4 separate regions of the Homo sapiens genome follow, and regions 2, 3 and 4 are each linked to region 1. Evidence: promoter capture Hi-C in 16 types of primary human blood cells and fetal thymus (Javierre and others, 2016). All regions are on one chromosome and are shown on one strand. The core of a region is centred on a gene start or on the middle of the fragment in contact, and the rest is flanking DNA. Distances in the headings are between cores, read along the strand shown. Region 1 holds the start of NMI (N-myc and STAT interactor). Region 2 has its middle 20 kb from the start of MMADHC-DT. Region 3 holds the start of FMNL2 (formin like 2). Region 4 overlaps MMADHC-DT (MMADHC divergent transcript).

Region 1 (3,784 bases), core at 402-2,901:
CTAACACCACCAGAACCCTTTTGGCATCTTTTGCATCTGGATACTTTTGCTCTATGCATGAGTGGGATGTATGGTCATTCCTTTTATGCAATCATGTAGTAGGCAAAACAATGGCTCCCTCAAAGATGTCCACATCTTAATCCCAAGAATCTGTGATTATGTTAGTTTATATTGCAAAGGAGAATTAAGGCTGCAGATTGAATTAAGGTTGCTAATCAGCTTGCTTTTAAATATGGAGAGCATCCTGGATTATCTGTGGGAGCCCAGTGTAATCATGAGGCTACTTAAAAGTGAAAGCGGAAGACAGAAGAAGAGTCAAGAGTGAAATGTGACCCCGGAAGAACTTTCAGAGGCGCAATGTTGCTGGCCCTGAAGATGGAGGAAGGGCTGCTGAGCCAAATAAGGTAGGTGGCCTCCGGAAGATGGAAAGAGGATTCACCCCAAGAGCTTCCAGAAAGGAAGGCAACCCTGCCAACACTTTGATTTTAACCCAGTGAGACCTCAGTAGGACTGCTACAGAATCCTAAGATAGTAAATTGTGTATGTGAGTGTGTGTGTGTGTGTGTGTGTGCGCGCGCGCGCGCGTTCCTATGTGTTTAAGCCACTAAAGCCATGTAATTTGTTATGGCAGCGAATTAAAAAAACTGATACAAATCAACATCACCGTATTTCCGTAATACAATCATATAACTGCGGTGCCAGGCCGTGTAGAATCGAATCTTCCTATATGCATGCGTGGCAGCAAAAAGAAAGGCAATAGAACGTCTGCCTGTTGTACAGACTGGAAACACAGTATTCTCCTTCGGATGTCTCCTTCAAGAAAAACCTTGCCTATTCTGACACGCCAGCCATGACTGCACAACACTGCCCCTACCAAGAATCGTTTTCTTAAGAAATCCGTTTTCCTAAGGACTATCTCCAGAGACACTCGGAGAAAACAGCGAGGGCCGGGCGCGGTGGCTCACGCCTGTAATCCCAGCACTTTGGGAGGCCGAGGCGTGCGGATCACGAGGTCAGGAGATCGTATCCATCCTGGTTAACACGGTGAAACCCCGTCTCTACTAAAAATACAAAAAAAAAAATTAGCCAGGCGTGGTGGCGGGCGCCTGTAGTCCCAGCTACTCTACTCGGGAGGCTGAGGCTGGAGAATGGCGTGAACCCGGGAGGCGGAGCTTGCAGTGAGCCGAGATCGCGCCACTGCACTCCAGCCTGAGCGACAGAGCGAGACTCCGTCTCAAAAAAAAAAAAAAAAAAAAAAAAGAGAGAAAACAGCGAGGAAACACAAATAACTTTATGTTTCAATTTCCTCAATGAAGCAAAGCAAACAAGTGACAAGGCTCGAAGCCCTGACGGCCCAGAGACTGCACAGCGGGCCCAGGAGCAGGTGCGCCCCCTCGAAGGCGGCGTGGCCTCCGCGACTCGGCTGCGGGCAGCTCCCGGGGAGCAGGGTCTCAACTCCGGCGCTGTCCCACTTCCGTCGGCGCTGAGGGCTCCCACCTCCCTTTCCACCCCCGGCTCTCCAGCCCGGGACTGCCAGCGGCGGGAGTGGCAGCCGGGGAAGGGACTCCCCACTCACCCGCGTCCGCCCGCCGAGCGCAGCTCCCCAAGGCCCAGCGCGCCTGCCCTTCCCGGAAAACAGCAGCGCCTGAAACGCCGGAACCCCGGGAGGCACTGGGAGGGGAAGGCCCGGGTTCTCGAAACTGTCGCTGCCTCCTGCAGAAGCGCCGCGGGAGAGCTGCGGGGTCTTCCTGAGGAGGTGGCCCTCGCAGGAACAGCTGGGTTCCCCGCGAAAAGAAAAAGACAGTGAAAAAGAAAACTGCTTTAACGGCGATTTTTCTTTAGCATTTAACCAATGCTCAAATACTAAACATGGTTGTCTCCAATGATTAGTCACTAACAGAAAAAAAAACTAATTTCACTTTCGATTTTTAAAAAGGGGTGGTTTTGCGGAGGAAAGCAGAAGTATACCTGAAGTTTCCGTACACACTAATTTTAGGGAACGCTTTCTAAAACCAGTTTTTTGCATGTATTTTATAAGGTATGTTGGAAAAGTGGATAGAAACCAAATAAAGTCAAAGCAGGAATCGCTCTTCATCAGATTGTAACTCTTTTGTAATTTCTTAGTCATTGTAACACTAGTTGACAAATGTTTACAGTCAGCACAAGATCGGCGTTTCTGTGTCTTTTGTAACATCCCCCGGGGCCATGAAGTTGGGAAAGCTGTGGTGTTCCTGTTGGTTTCTGTGACCCATGTCCCTTGAAAGTTTTCTTATAATCTCTTGTTTTGTTGTGGAGCTTGTAAATAAATACTTCACTAGGTGTGAACTTTTCCTTTGAAAATTCAAACATCTGGTTTATTTCAAGAACTGCAGTGTCTCTTAATCCCACACAAAGAACCACCCCACAGCTGCCCCGGCTCATAAATACAGATGTGGGAAGAAAATGAGTCAAAATTATTTCAAGGCATAAATTATAGGTTATCATGCTACCTAGTCACATATAATAACTGATACAGTGGTCTAAAATAGTTTAACAAAAGTAAAATTTCTTTGTATCAAAAAGGTTGATGGGAACCAGTTTAAAGTGGTGACATTTCTCTTTTTTTTTTTTTTTTTTGAGATGAGTCTTGCTCTGTTGCCCAGTCTCCAACTCCTGAGCTCAAGCAGTCCTTCCACCTCCACTCCCAAGTAGCTGGGATTACAGGAATTCACGACCGCACCCAGATTTTTTGTACTTTTAATTTGGGTGCTGGGGGCAGGTATCTAACTGTTTCCCAGGCTGATCTTGAGCTCTGGCCCAAGTGATCCCACCACCTCAGCCTCCTGTAAAATGGCATTTCTAAGTAAAAAAAACGACTTCTTTGTGCTTATCAGACCAGTTAGAAAATACAAAAACTCCTTCTGCTGCAACTTGAGAAAGAATTACTTTAGTTTTACCTTGAAATTTTAGAGGGAATATGAACTCTCGAGGTTATTTAGTTGAACCTCATTTCTTCTTATTTTTATTTTTTACAAGAAGATACTAAAGGACAGGACCATGGCCAGAACAGGACTAACTTAATATATTGACTCAGATTCTGTTTAAAAGGCAAATGATACAGGTGGAGGGGAAGTCTTTTTGGACACCTACATTCTAAAGCTGAGACATGTACTAACAGTCTGAATTTAACTCAGCTTCAAATCTGGTATTCTGCAAAGTGTTAGAGATCTGAAGATGAAGAGTTGGCTCCTGGACATACTATTAATAATTGTAATTGCTAACATCTACTAAGAACTCCTGGACATTTTATAAACCTTTTTGTTTTGCCAACAACAATATTAGATATAGGTATTATTCCCATTTCTTTTCACCTGTCTGAAGCAGGCAGGAAGGTATTATCCCCATTTTGCAGTTGAGGAAACTAAGGCATAAAGAGGTGACCCAAAATCAAGCAGTTAATATATGGTGACAATGATATCATACTCTACTCTCAACAATATCTCCAAACTGTGTCCTAGGGTACATGGAGAACATGGAATTTTATGGCCCAATACAATTAGGAAATGCTGCATTCTGAATCCACTTTTGGAAATTCACAATGCACATTGGCACATTAAGAGTTCCAAGAAGTATTGCAGGGAAAAATTAAAAATTTGTGCATATTAAAAATTTTAACTTTATTCAACCTTGAACTTATCAAATCAATTTGAGCGATATATTCTTTTTTTCAAGGAACAGTTATTAAAATCTTGGGGAGTTTCTGATGGGACCTTTCGAGGAATGCTCTAGTAAATTACGCCCTCTC
Region 2 (3,803 bases), core at 925-3,424, 1.7 Mb before region 1:
TTGTTTACTGATTTTAGGAGTCTTTATATATTTTGAATACAAGCTGTTTATTGGATATGTATATTGCCAGATTGTTGAGTATGTATTTATCTTTAACTCTGCTAGCTGCCTTCTCCTTCATGATGTCTTTTGATGAATTAAGAGTTCTTAGTTGTTTTTTGTTTTTGTTTTTTGAGACAGTTTCGCTATCATTGCCCAGGCTGGAGTGCAATGGCATGATCTCAGCTCACCGCAACCTCCGCCTCCCAGGTTCAAGCGATTCTCCTGTCTCCTGGGTAGCTGGGATTACAGCACCACCACGCCCGGCTAATTTTTTCTATTTTTAGTAGAGACGGGGTTTCTCCATGTTGGTCAGGCTGGTCTTGAATTCCCAACCTCAGGTGATCCGCCAGCCTCGGCCTCCCAAAGTGCTGGCATTACAGGTGTGAGCCATGGCGCCTGGCCAAGGGTTCTTACTTTTAACATGATCCAATTAATCATTTTTCCCTTTATATGATTATGTTGTATTCTCTTAAAAACAAATCTTTGTCTACTCCAAAGCACAAAGATTTTTTTTCCCCCTAGAAGCTTTAACCTTTCAAATTTAGACTTGGAATCAATTTAGAATTTTGATGTATGTGTCATGTAAAAGTAAAAATACATTTTTCTATATGAATATCCAATTGACCCAGCAATATATACTGAAAAGATCCTTCTTTTCTCACTGCACTGCAGTGTCACCTCTGTGATCAATCAAGTGACCACTTATGTGCTTTTTATAGTAGTGACATGGTTTTAACTGATTATAATTTCCAGTAATGAATGGAAGACAAATGCTCAAAGTCTCAAAAAACAAAAAATGCTCAAAGCCTTAAGTCTACATAATTAAGTTACAGTTTACATGTATTCTAAGAGGGCAATGAAAACCCTATGAAAAACTTTAAAATATCCTGGTTAGGAATGAGAGGATAACAGGAAAGTTATTACTGCATATTCAATGGTGTGTTTAAGTTAGTAGGAAATTGGGTCCTTACTTTCCAAGTATGGGAGGCAAGATTTAAGACAAAAAAATATAAAGGAACTGTGTACAAAATCGTGTGGTGGAGACCAAGTACTATATAAATTAAGGAAAAGACCAGTGAGGGATGAAGAGCCAGGAAAGGTTTCATAGAGGAAGTGTGACTCAAATCCTTGAATTGATTTAGGCCTGATTAGGTCTCTCTTAATGCAAAATATTAGAGCCTTCATTCTTTTCTATAGCTCCTTAATACATTAAATAGATTAGCAAATCTTACTCTTATTTCCTTAGATGCCTCTAATCCACCAACTATTACTGAGTTTTAGGACCGACCAGAGGTTCTAACCCTGAATGCACACTGAAACACCTGGGAAACCCTTAAAAAGTACTTAGGTCCAAACCTCATCAGACTAATGATATCAATATGTGGGTGTGAGGCCAACTCATCAGTACTAAATGCCCTCAGGGGATCTAAATGTACAGTTAAAGTTGAGGACTTTGAATCAGTGGTTCTCAACCCCAGTGATAAAGTTGTCAGATAAAATTCAGAACACCTGGTTAAATTTGACTTCTGATAAGTATTTTGTCCCATAGGAGAAATATAGCAATAACGGAAGACATTTTTGTCATAACCATGGCTTGCTGTTGGTATCTAATAAGCAGAAACTAGGGAATGCTGCTAAACTTCCTACAATGTCTAGGAGAGCCCACACAACAAAGACTGGTTCAAGACGTCAATAGTGCAGAAGTGGATAAACCCTCCTTGTGACAACAGTCACAAGGAGAATATAGAGTTGGAACTAAAAAGAGAGTTTTGTTCAAATGTAAGGACTAGGTTGATATTACAAGTAACAGAAGCCCAAGAAAGACATGAAGGTTTTAAACTTGAAGCTAGAGAACTATTGTTTGAAGTCTAGCATTCTATAATTGAATTTTTAGATACATGTTTCAGTAAATTTTCAAAGAAACTAAAAGCACATAGCGTTCAATGTAATGAATTCCTAAGTTTATGAAGTGGCAGCATTATCAGTTAACCCAAAAGTTCTTTCACTTTAAATTCTGCAACTCTTTGATATTTTTAATCAGACACTTAATAGACTTCTTGATTATGACCATGAAGTGAATATAGAAAAGAAATATATATAACTAATGGACTCTTGGCCAAGTCCCAGTGCTGGGTCTTAACACTAGCTGTGTGACCTGATGCAAATGCTCCTGTTTCCCATTTTGTCTACCATAAAATGAGGAATGTGGATGACATGATCTGAAAGATCTCTTTCAGCATTTAATTTCTATGTGCTTGATAAATTTTCATCTATGTAACCAGCATCCAAGAACAAAAATTCCTAAGTTCTTGTGAAAACATAACTTTAACAAATAAACTTTTATTCAGTGACAGATCTAATAGTAATTTCAATGGCTCAGTCTTATTTTTTTAAAAGGTAGCAAATTTATGTTTAAGATATATAATTTTACAAATCCTTTCTTGTCCACAAGGTCCTGATCAAGTGAACAGTTACCTGAGGTGTTTTTTTCTGTGGTACATAATAGTCAACCACTTTATATTATTATCATTCAGTAAGAGTTCCTTGAGTTATATTTCTAAAACCTGAATCTTGCCATAATACTTCAGAAAAAAAAGTTTTTAATTAACAGTTACTGCTGATCATATTTGTTTCTGGAAATCCTGTTAAAAAGCAAGTTGATAAAGAGTCTCGTCACCATGTACCCTATCTCAGTACAACAGAATGCACAGACTTAGTCACCTATAGGGAATAAGTATCATTTTCGATCAGTAAGTGACACTTCCTAATTGTTAAAGCAAATGTTGAAATTTCAAGGGAACTTGCCTTAAAGAATGGTGCAAGGTAGGAAATGGCTGAATAAGCAAAATACACATTAGAAATAATGAGAGTGGTGCAAGGTACTTGACCAAATTCTGTATTGTGTAACGCTGTCCTCTGTACTGTGGGACGTTCAGCACTAACCCTGTCCTCTACCTACTAAGTTCTGTAGCACAACTCCCCCATGTCCCTCCAAATTATGAAAATAAAAAATGTCTCCAGACATTGCTAAATTTCCCTTGAGGGGCAAAGCTGCCCCAATTCAGAAGCAATGAGAAGGCAAAAACTAGGCAAACAAATTTGATACCATATACGATAACAGGAATTAATTTCACAATGTTGAGTAAAAGCAGCCAGACACTGAAGCGAACACATTATACAGTTTCATATATATATGTAAAATGTGTGTGTGTATATATACATGTGTATGTGTGTCTACGTATATATAAAGCGTCAAAACAGGCAAAACCAACCTATACTGTACAAGGAAACCTGGACAGTGGTTACTCACGGAAAGGGCAAGGGCTGGGGAGCATGTAGTACCTAGAAGGGAGCAGGATGAGTGTGTTTGAGTATTCTGTGTTTTGATCTGGGTGCTGGTTACACACATAAAAATTTATTGAGCACATATGATGTGCATATATATATATATATATACACTTCAATAAATGTTCTTCTAAATGCTGTGGCAATCACTACACTTCATCATTTCAAAATAAATGAAAACTTTCTAGTTCTAGATCGTAAGCAACACCTCTTATCAAATGACATGTTAACTAAGCTAGGGGTTTTAAAACAAGGTGTGATTAAAAAGTTATCTCCATGTAGTCCTTTTCAAAACAGGCATTTCATGCAAAGAAGAAAAAACAGAAAAAAATCTATTTCAATTCATTTTGTGGAAGTTACATTTACTCCTTAGATCTGCCTATTCCTATTTGCAAAAGCTTCAAAAATGAAAGATG
Region 3 (3,549 bases), core at 96-2,595, 1.0 Mb after region 1:
GTGTGTATTTGTGTCATATGCTTTTGGAAAAAGTCACTTGTCAATTCCACAAATAGTTCTTGGGCGTCTACTATGTTTAAAGTATCTTGAAGTTTATAAAGATGAATGAAATGTCCTTGATTGAATCTTGGTGTACTACCTTGTCCAGAAACACTTGCTATTTACTAAAAGGATAACAACCTTACCTGCATATCAAAATCACCTGGGGAGCTTGTTGAAAATACACCGGCCCAGGCTTCGGCTCTCAGCTTAGGGAGATTCTGATAATACGCAGAGCCCAAGGTGTGTGTAGTTTTAACAAAAAGCTTCCCAAGCGAATCTGATACACATCTAGGATTAAGAAACACTGCTTTAAACTAAGAAAGGACTAACTGCAGAAGTTCAGCCACAAGTCAACCAGATGTATGCCCTTAACATTCACATGAGCAGTTGGCTAAAGTCTCTTATAAGGCTATTTCTATTTCCGAGGTTTCAGAACGGGTAGTTATAGTCTGAAATACACCCCAGAGGACAGAGTCAGGTCCAATCTTTTCTGTAAGACACCTTGCTCAAGACTGCTGTGAAGGAATAAGAGAGCTGCAGCCAAAGATCATCCCAAAGTCTCCCAGAACACTCTATCATTATATCCATCTCACATGAAATATGGGTGTGTACATTTTTTCCTTCACTAGATTGGCAAGTATTCCAGCGCAGGGCAAATCTCTTTTTTCTCCCACCAAGGAACACAATATCCCATACATAATAGGTGTTTGACAGGTTTTTTTTTTAAATTGAATTGAATCCTTACCTAGCTCCTAGGGTCTGACTATATATACCCATAAATTATACATCTGTTTATAAAACATTTCAATCACACCAAAGAACATATATATGGAAGAAAGAACGATAAACAAGCACCCATGGACCCACCCCCCCGTTTATGAAACAGAACTTTGCCAGTGCTTTCGAAGTTCCTTACTGAACTAGATCTTTTAAAAACAGCAACGATTTTCTGAATTTTAATCAGAAGGCATGCATTCCTTCATTCATTGATTCGATTCCGTCATGGTCAGACCCGCCTACCAAGTGTCAACATGATATACACGATGTAAGTATTCCACTGTTGGGGTGAGGAGGGTCAAAAGTGACAATATGCTATCTCCAGAGACTACGGATCGCCTTTGCTGCAAATGGTCCCAACCCGGCCTGGCGCTCTAGAGCAGGCGTGGTTTCTGCGCGCGGACACTTTGGAGAGAAACTACGCGTCCCGGCAGTCCGCGGGGCGAGTGGGCGGAGCCGGGCCGGGGGCGGGGGCCGGGCGCCGGGCGAGAGGTGGCATTGTGTAGGGGAGCGCGGAGCTGCATTTGTCTGCTCCAGGTGCTAGCCAGGCAGGCGCAGCCGTGGCCGGCTAGGGCTGGAAGTGTCAGCGGCGGCCGCGGGCCCGGCAGAAGGCCGAGTAGGAGGGACCACGCGCCGGGGGCCGCGATCTCTGGCAGGGGGCGGTGTGCCAGCGGAGCACCATGCACATAGGCGCCCAGCGCCCCAACTACCCCTCCCGAGGAAAAGAGGCCGGGGCCGCGCTGGGGCGGCGGAGAGCATGAGGGAGGCCGGGGGGCGGCTCGGCTTGGAGCGCTGCTAGGGAGCGGTGCGCGCCGCACACCCGCCTGGGCGCGGCGGAGGGCGGGGAGCCGGGCAGGTCGCGCCTGCGGGCGGCAGCCGACCGCCGGGAGCTGTTCTGATTTCCGACGCGCACGCTAGGGGCCCGGAGCAGCCCCCGGCCCCGGCGCGCCGCCGACATGGGCAACGCAGGGAGCATGGATTCGCAGCAGACCGATTTCAGGGCGCACAACGTGCCTTTGAAGCTGCCGATGCCAGAGCCAGGTGAACTGGAGGAGCGATTTGCCATCGTGCTGGTAAGTGCGCGGCGGCGGTCGGGCGCGGGGACCCGGGGCCCCGGGCCGGGCGGCGCAGCTGACCCCCGCCCCTCCCCTTCACCCCGTGCCGGGAGCGAGCCTCCATTCCCGAGGGGGAGGCTCCCGCTTTCCCCTTTGTGGCCCCCCAGCACTCCTCTTCACCCCCCTGGCAGTCCCCCGCGCTCAGTCTCTCGGGGTCCCGGGATGGGGATGGGGGCTCAGGGCCGGCTGCCCAACCAGCCTCGAACCCATTGTCTGGCTGGAGAGGCACCTCACGGCGCGTGTGCCCGGGAGGTGCGGCGTGGGCGTGAAGAGAAGGTGGCGCGGGCTGGGAGGAGGAGGTGGCGAGCCGCTTAGGCTTTTTTTTTAAAAAAAACAAAACAAAACAAAACAAAACAAAACACCCTGAGCCCCTGCGGACCATCCCTCGGGCGGCCAGCCCGGGACCTGCGAAGTCCCCGGCAGATGGGGCGCATGTGGCCGGCCGCGGGCGCCGCGCCGGGCGGTGAGCGGAGGCGAACTTGGAGGGCTCACGTCGCGGCTTGGCCAAGGGGAGCTTCCCCGAAAGGGAAAGCGGAGACCCACAGCAGTGCGGCGCCCCGGCCCTTGGCGAGGAGCAGGGGCATCTGAAACCCAGGCCGGGGAGAACCTCAGCGCGTTCCCTCTAGACTTAAATCTTAAACCACAAAAATGTGGAGTTTTGCGGGGACGTGTTGCGAGCTGTCCTGACTGCACGGGCGACCCCTCCCCTCCTCTTGCACGCCCAGCCAGGTCCCCCGCTCCCTCCTGCATTCCGCTTCTCCCAGCTTTCCAGCTCCTCAAATCCAGGACTCTGAAAACTCCCCTCTTTCTCCCTTTCCTGCTGGGACAGTGTCTGGGCCCCTCCCAGCCGAGGCTTGTGCTGTGAGCTGCAGAGGGTGTGGCGGCTTGCCCCAGCCAGGATCTGGACTGCTGTTGGTCCCCCAGACTACCAGTTTTAGTGTCCCAGCCTCTTCTAAGGGATGTTGGGAGGGACACACACAGGCGAGATTGGGCTCATTCCTACTCCTGACACTTGGACACTTCTCTTTTCCTAGTTGGTTACCTCTAAACTCCACAAGACTAGGCAGCAAGGGAAACTCGTGATCCGGGCAGCCAACGATTGTGCCTGCCTGCGGGTTTTCTTTTCTTCTTTTGTTTTCATGAAAACTTAGAACTTTGGCAGAGGACTCGAGTTCTAGATCAAAAATCGGTTTTCTGAGGTGTGCTCAGCTACAGGACGTTCAAATTGCCTGCCTTCAGGCCTTGAAAAAGGAATGGTTTGGTATGGGAAGTGATGTTCTGGATGGCAGGTTAGCTGTGTGCTCTTTGGGAGAACTGAGCTCTCTCTCCCGCCACCTGGAAACTCTGGTGTGGCCGTCGGGGAGACAGATGAGGTTGCTTGTGTTGCTTTGCATCTCCTGTGATCTCCCACAGCTGCTCCCACCGTTGTGCAAGATGGGACACTGAAATGAAACGGCCTAGGCATAACTCTCAAGGCGGCCTGGGTGCATACTTGACCTGCTTTTCCAGAGACAAACGTTTTTCTTCAAAACCCTCTTCCTACTAGACATATGGTTCTTACCTCCTGGCTCTGGCTTTTTTTCCTCCTGGCTCTGGCTTTTTTGTTTTTCCATCC
Region 4 (3,636 bases), core at 110-2,609, 1.7 Mb before region 1:
GCTCTCATTTTTGCTTTAAACAGTCGATTCTATTTTGATGATATTTTGTAAAATGAGAAAATTGTTTTTTTACATTCCTCTACAAACTTACCATTTCTGGCTTTCTTTAATCCTTTGTGTAGATTTAATTTTCCACCTGGTGTTATTTTAGCTCTGCCTAAAGAACTTCCTTTAGCGTTGTTGGAGTGGAATTCTTTTGGTGATGAATTCTCTTCATTTTGTTCTTCCAGAAATGTACATTCATTCTTCACATTGGAAATATATTTTTCTTGATAAAGAAATGTAGGTAGACAATATTTCCCCCTCTCAATACATCTGGCTTGCATAGTTTATGATGGAAGTCTGCTGTCATTCTTCTCTTTATTGCTTTGTTTGCAGTGTGTCACAATGTGTCTTATTTTTATGGCTGATCTTAAGATTTTCTTTTTATCATTAGTTTTTGGCCATTTAATTATATAGTGCTTTGGAATCTAATACCATTCTCAAGCTTTTACTTGATACCTTATATATTTCGTTTTTGGTTTTTAAAATTTTGTTGTTGTTGTTGTTATTGTTTCATCTTGGCTGGTGGGAACATGAACAATTCCTAGCGCTCTGTGAGCTGCAAGAATATTTCTGAGTACTCCTTTCTTGTGTTTTTTTCCCAAGCATGAGTCATTTCCTCTCATGCATGCACAGATCAGTACTTAGGCAAAGCCTCCTCCAGACCCCACTGCAGATCTCCAGAGTTCCTTTTTTGTGCAGCTCCTTCATCTGTGCTACCATGCCCCACGAACTCCACCTTTTGTAATATCCCTGAATTCTAATCTCTCTTTCTTCAGCTTAAAAAGACTGCCTAACTCTGTGCTGTTGCCTGGAAACTGCCTACAGGAAGTAAGATGGTGCAGGTTAACATCTCATCATCTGGTTTCTTTCTCTCAGGGATCACAGTCTTATAATGCCTCTTTTCAAATGCCTCTAAACCAGTGTTTCCTATGTTTTGTCTGAGTTTTTCTAGTTGCTTACAGCATGTGATGGGGTTCCTTTTGACTCTATTTTGACTTGAAACGATAGTGTCCATGGAGATGGAGCCAGTTTCTTACTTCCTGACATCCTATTCCTAAAGACTAATAGAATACTCCAGAGTTTGTGATAAAAGAGAATATCCATTAAATTAATGATAAGATCAGTGCATATATGAATACTCCAGTAATTCCCAGGTAATGATAAATAAAACAGTCACAAAGAGCTGCAGAATTAGAAAGCTATTTGAACTTTGAATCAACTATGTTGAAGCAACATAATGAAATACAGAGTCTTCTAGATACTCTGTAAAGTCATAGAATTTTAGAAAGTATTGTTCTCATTATTTCTGATGCAGTAAAGTTCAAAGAGGTAATTACATTGCTTTCTGGCAGACAGTTGACCAGAAAGGCCAAAGTAGAAATCATAAGCCAACTGCCTTAATGGTTTGGGTAGTGGTATAGGTAAATGAAAAGGCAATTTTAATCTTCTGACTTCAAATTAAGAGATTATATATTTAACTTCCTAATAGATAAATACATTATTGCCTTTCAATTCATTTTTGTTTAAAAACAGCTTCTTTTAGAATTCTGCTTTGGTATATTGCTTTAGTGTGGGCACAAATTCCCAAAGATTCCATGAAGAATTTAGTATATAATCTCCCTTAGAAAAAGTACAGCATTTTTATGAGCAGAATAATAATATTCAGAAATGATATAAAGGTACACACAGGAATATGTGTGTAGCTTCAATATCTATAAGGGATTATAATTTTAACATTTTATTGATCTTTTAAGGTGTTTTGAGTTTTCAAATAAAATTGCTCTCTATTATTGTGCACTTAGAGATACTTTTCTAGGCAATAATATGTAAATTAATTGCCTTTTCAGGCTGCGCTATGGTTTCCCATTGTGGCATGGAATAATATATTGGGGAGATTTTTCTGTTTTATGGCAGTTTTAACTATCTTTTAAAAATGGTTAAAATTTCCAGTTGCAATAACGTAGCGTTAAATTATTTAAAAACTGTTATGAAGAAATATATCTCAGGATTAATAGAAAAAATTTCTTATATTGGCCAATTTCAAATTTAACCACAATTCTTAATACATTTCTCTTTGACATGAATTTATAAATAGCAATTATAATGAGTATGGTTCTCTAAATCAAATAACCTGTTAAAACCAAATGATCCAATTACAGGTTTATATTAAAAATGAATGAATAAGGAAAGCTTTTTAGCTCCTTAAGATGCTATCATTCCTTTTATAGAATGTCAAGATTTACAGAATATCAGGAAAGTAATCAATCTTCCTTTGATTAGGCTTGTATCTTCTCTTTCTTTCAAATTTCTGCAGACTTTTCATTTGCTGGGGGGAAAAATGGAAAGCTATGGGACAGTGAAAGATAACAGTTAAGAATTTCCAAAGGATTCAAGGATGTAGAAACAGAAATGACTCAAATGGTCATCACACTTCAAATTCCATCATAAAGGCTGAAACGCTGTAGTCCTATCCTGAACTGGTCCTAATGATTTAGTGCTCGATTCTAGGCTTGCACATAGGTAAACATGACGACATTATAGTATGTCAAATAATGCTCATGAATGAAAAGAACAGTGAGATTTTCAATGTTTTTTATACTGACTTGTTTCCCTCTATTTACTTTACTTGACCGCCCCCAAGAATAGTCAGATGACATAATTTGAGTCAATAGATACGTAACGGAGACAAACCAGATGGCCAATTCCTGTGGATTTATGGGACAATTCTGCATATTTTAAGCAAATAATTTGTTCTTTTCAATTATATTCAAAGCTTACATTCTGTTATACTGTATATTTTATTAGAGAATAGTTTTTCTGTGAAGATAATACCATTAGCTGAGTTGCAAAAAAAATTCTAAATTTTAATATATACTTTCAAACTATTTTTTTCATTCCAAAACTACTTCTGAGGAAACTCTTACATAAAATTAAGGTTAAATATTTTTATATTTCCTGACTTTCAATTTATTACCTATCTTCAAATCAACAATTAACTAATTGATTTACCATATGTTATAGACAATAGAAGTAAAGGGAAAGTGTGAGCATTTACAAAGTCAATTGAAAGAGACATTTAGCTGGAAAATATTTTGAGCATTGTGTTTTAACTTACTGCTCTGGAGGATGAGGATTTAACTCTTTTCAGCTTCTTTCTTCTATCATGTTTAGTCCACTTCAGAACCCACCCACCTCCCAAGATAGCTATATGACAATTTGATTAGACCAGTAATCAGGGTTTATGTTTCTATGACTATGTAATTGCTCATGAATGAGCTAGGTAGCATACCATGATCTTTTTTTCTCTTGACAATATTTTGTTCTCCTTAAAGTTAAGGAGGGCCTGGTTTTACTGTCATTTCTTCCTTTAGTTTTCTATAATCATATCATTTTCTTCGACCAAACTCTCTCAATTGTGGAAACATCTTCTCAAAACTTTTGGACACATTAGGTATTTTGTCACCTTCACTGTCTTGAAGAAATCTCTCCTGAGACTTTTGACCTGCTCCAAACTTAGATTAATTGTTTTCTAGGTCTGCTGTGCAGTTGTGGGATCTTTATTCATGAGTCTTCTCTTTCCTATATCATATT

What was found. Contacts are between HindIII fragments. The CHiCAGO score rates a contact against its expected background, and 5 or more counts as called.
Region 2: a fragment that was not itself captured here is called in contact with the fragment with the promoter of NMI in region 1 in 1 of 17 cell types (M2 macrophages); the score reaches 5.1 in M2 macrophages.
Region 3: the fragment with the promoter of FMNL2 here is called in contact with the fragment with the promoter of NMI in region 1 in 1 of 17 cell types (total B cells); the score reaches 7.5 in total B cells.
Region 4: a contact is called between a fragment that was not itself captured here and the fragment with the promoter of NMI in region 1, in 5 of 17 cell types (total CD4 T cells, total CD8 T cells, activated CD4 T cells and 2 more). The highest score is 14.2, in total CD4 T cells.

Annotation. Positions count from the first base shown.
Region 1 is chr2:151,288,017-151,291,800 of GRCh38, forward strand. It overlaps NMI (N-myc and STAT interactor), which reads right to left and starts at 1,652. Exons shown (of 8, transcript NM_004688.3): 1 at 1,577-1,652. RefSeq lists enhancers at 201-370, 1,171-1,220, 1,241-1,290, 1,681-1,760, 1,821-2,240 and a silencer at 1,421-1,620. The HindIII fragment of the contact is 4,870 bases long and covers 1-3,784 here.
Region 2 is chr2:149,565,412-149,569,214 of GRCh38, forward strand. No RefSeq gene overlaps it. Among named protein-coding and RNA genes, the nearest start is that of MMADHC-DT, 20 kb to the right of the region's middle. The HindIII fragment of the contact is 3,218 bases long and covers 566-3,783 here.
Region 3 is chr2:152,333,829-152,337,377 of GRCh38, forward strand. It overlaps FMNL2 (formin like 2), which reads left to right and starts at 1,346. Exons shown (of 26, transcript NM_052905.4): 1 at 1,346-1,892. The coding sequence starts at 1,776. RefSeq lists silencers at 1,146-1,795, 2,306-2,405. The HindIII fragment of the contact is 3,556 bases long and covers 304-3,549 here.
Region 4 is chr2:149,600,934-149,604,569 of GRCh38, forward strand. The region is part of intron 1 of MMADHC-DT (MMADHC divergent transcript); the gene reads left to right. Among named protein-coding and RNA genes, the nearest start is that of MMADHC, 15 kb to the left of the region's middle. The HindIII fragment of the contact is 1,748 bases long and covers 486-2,233 here.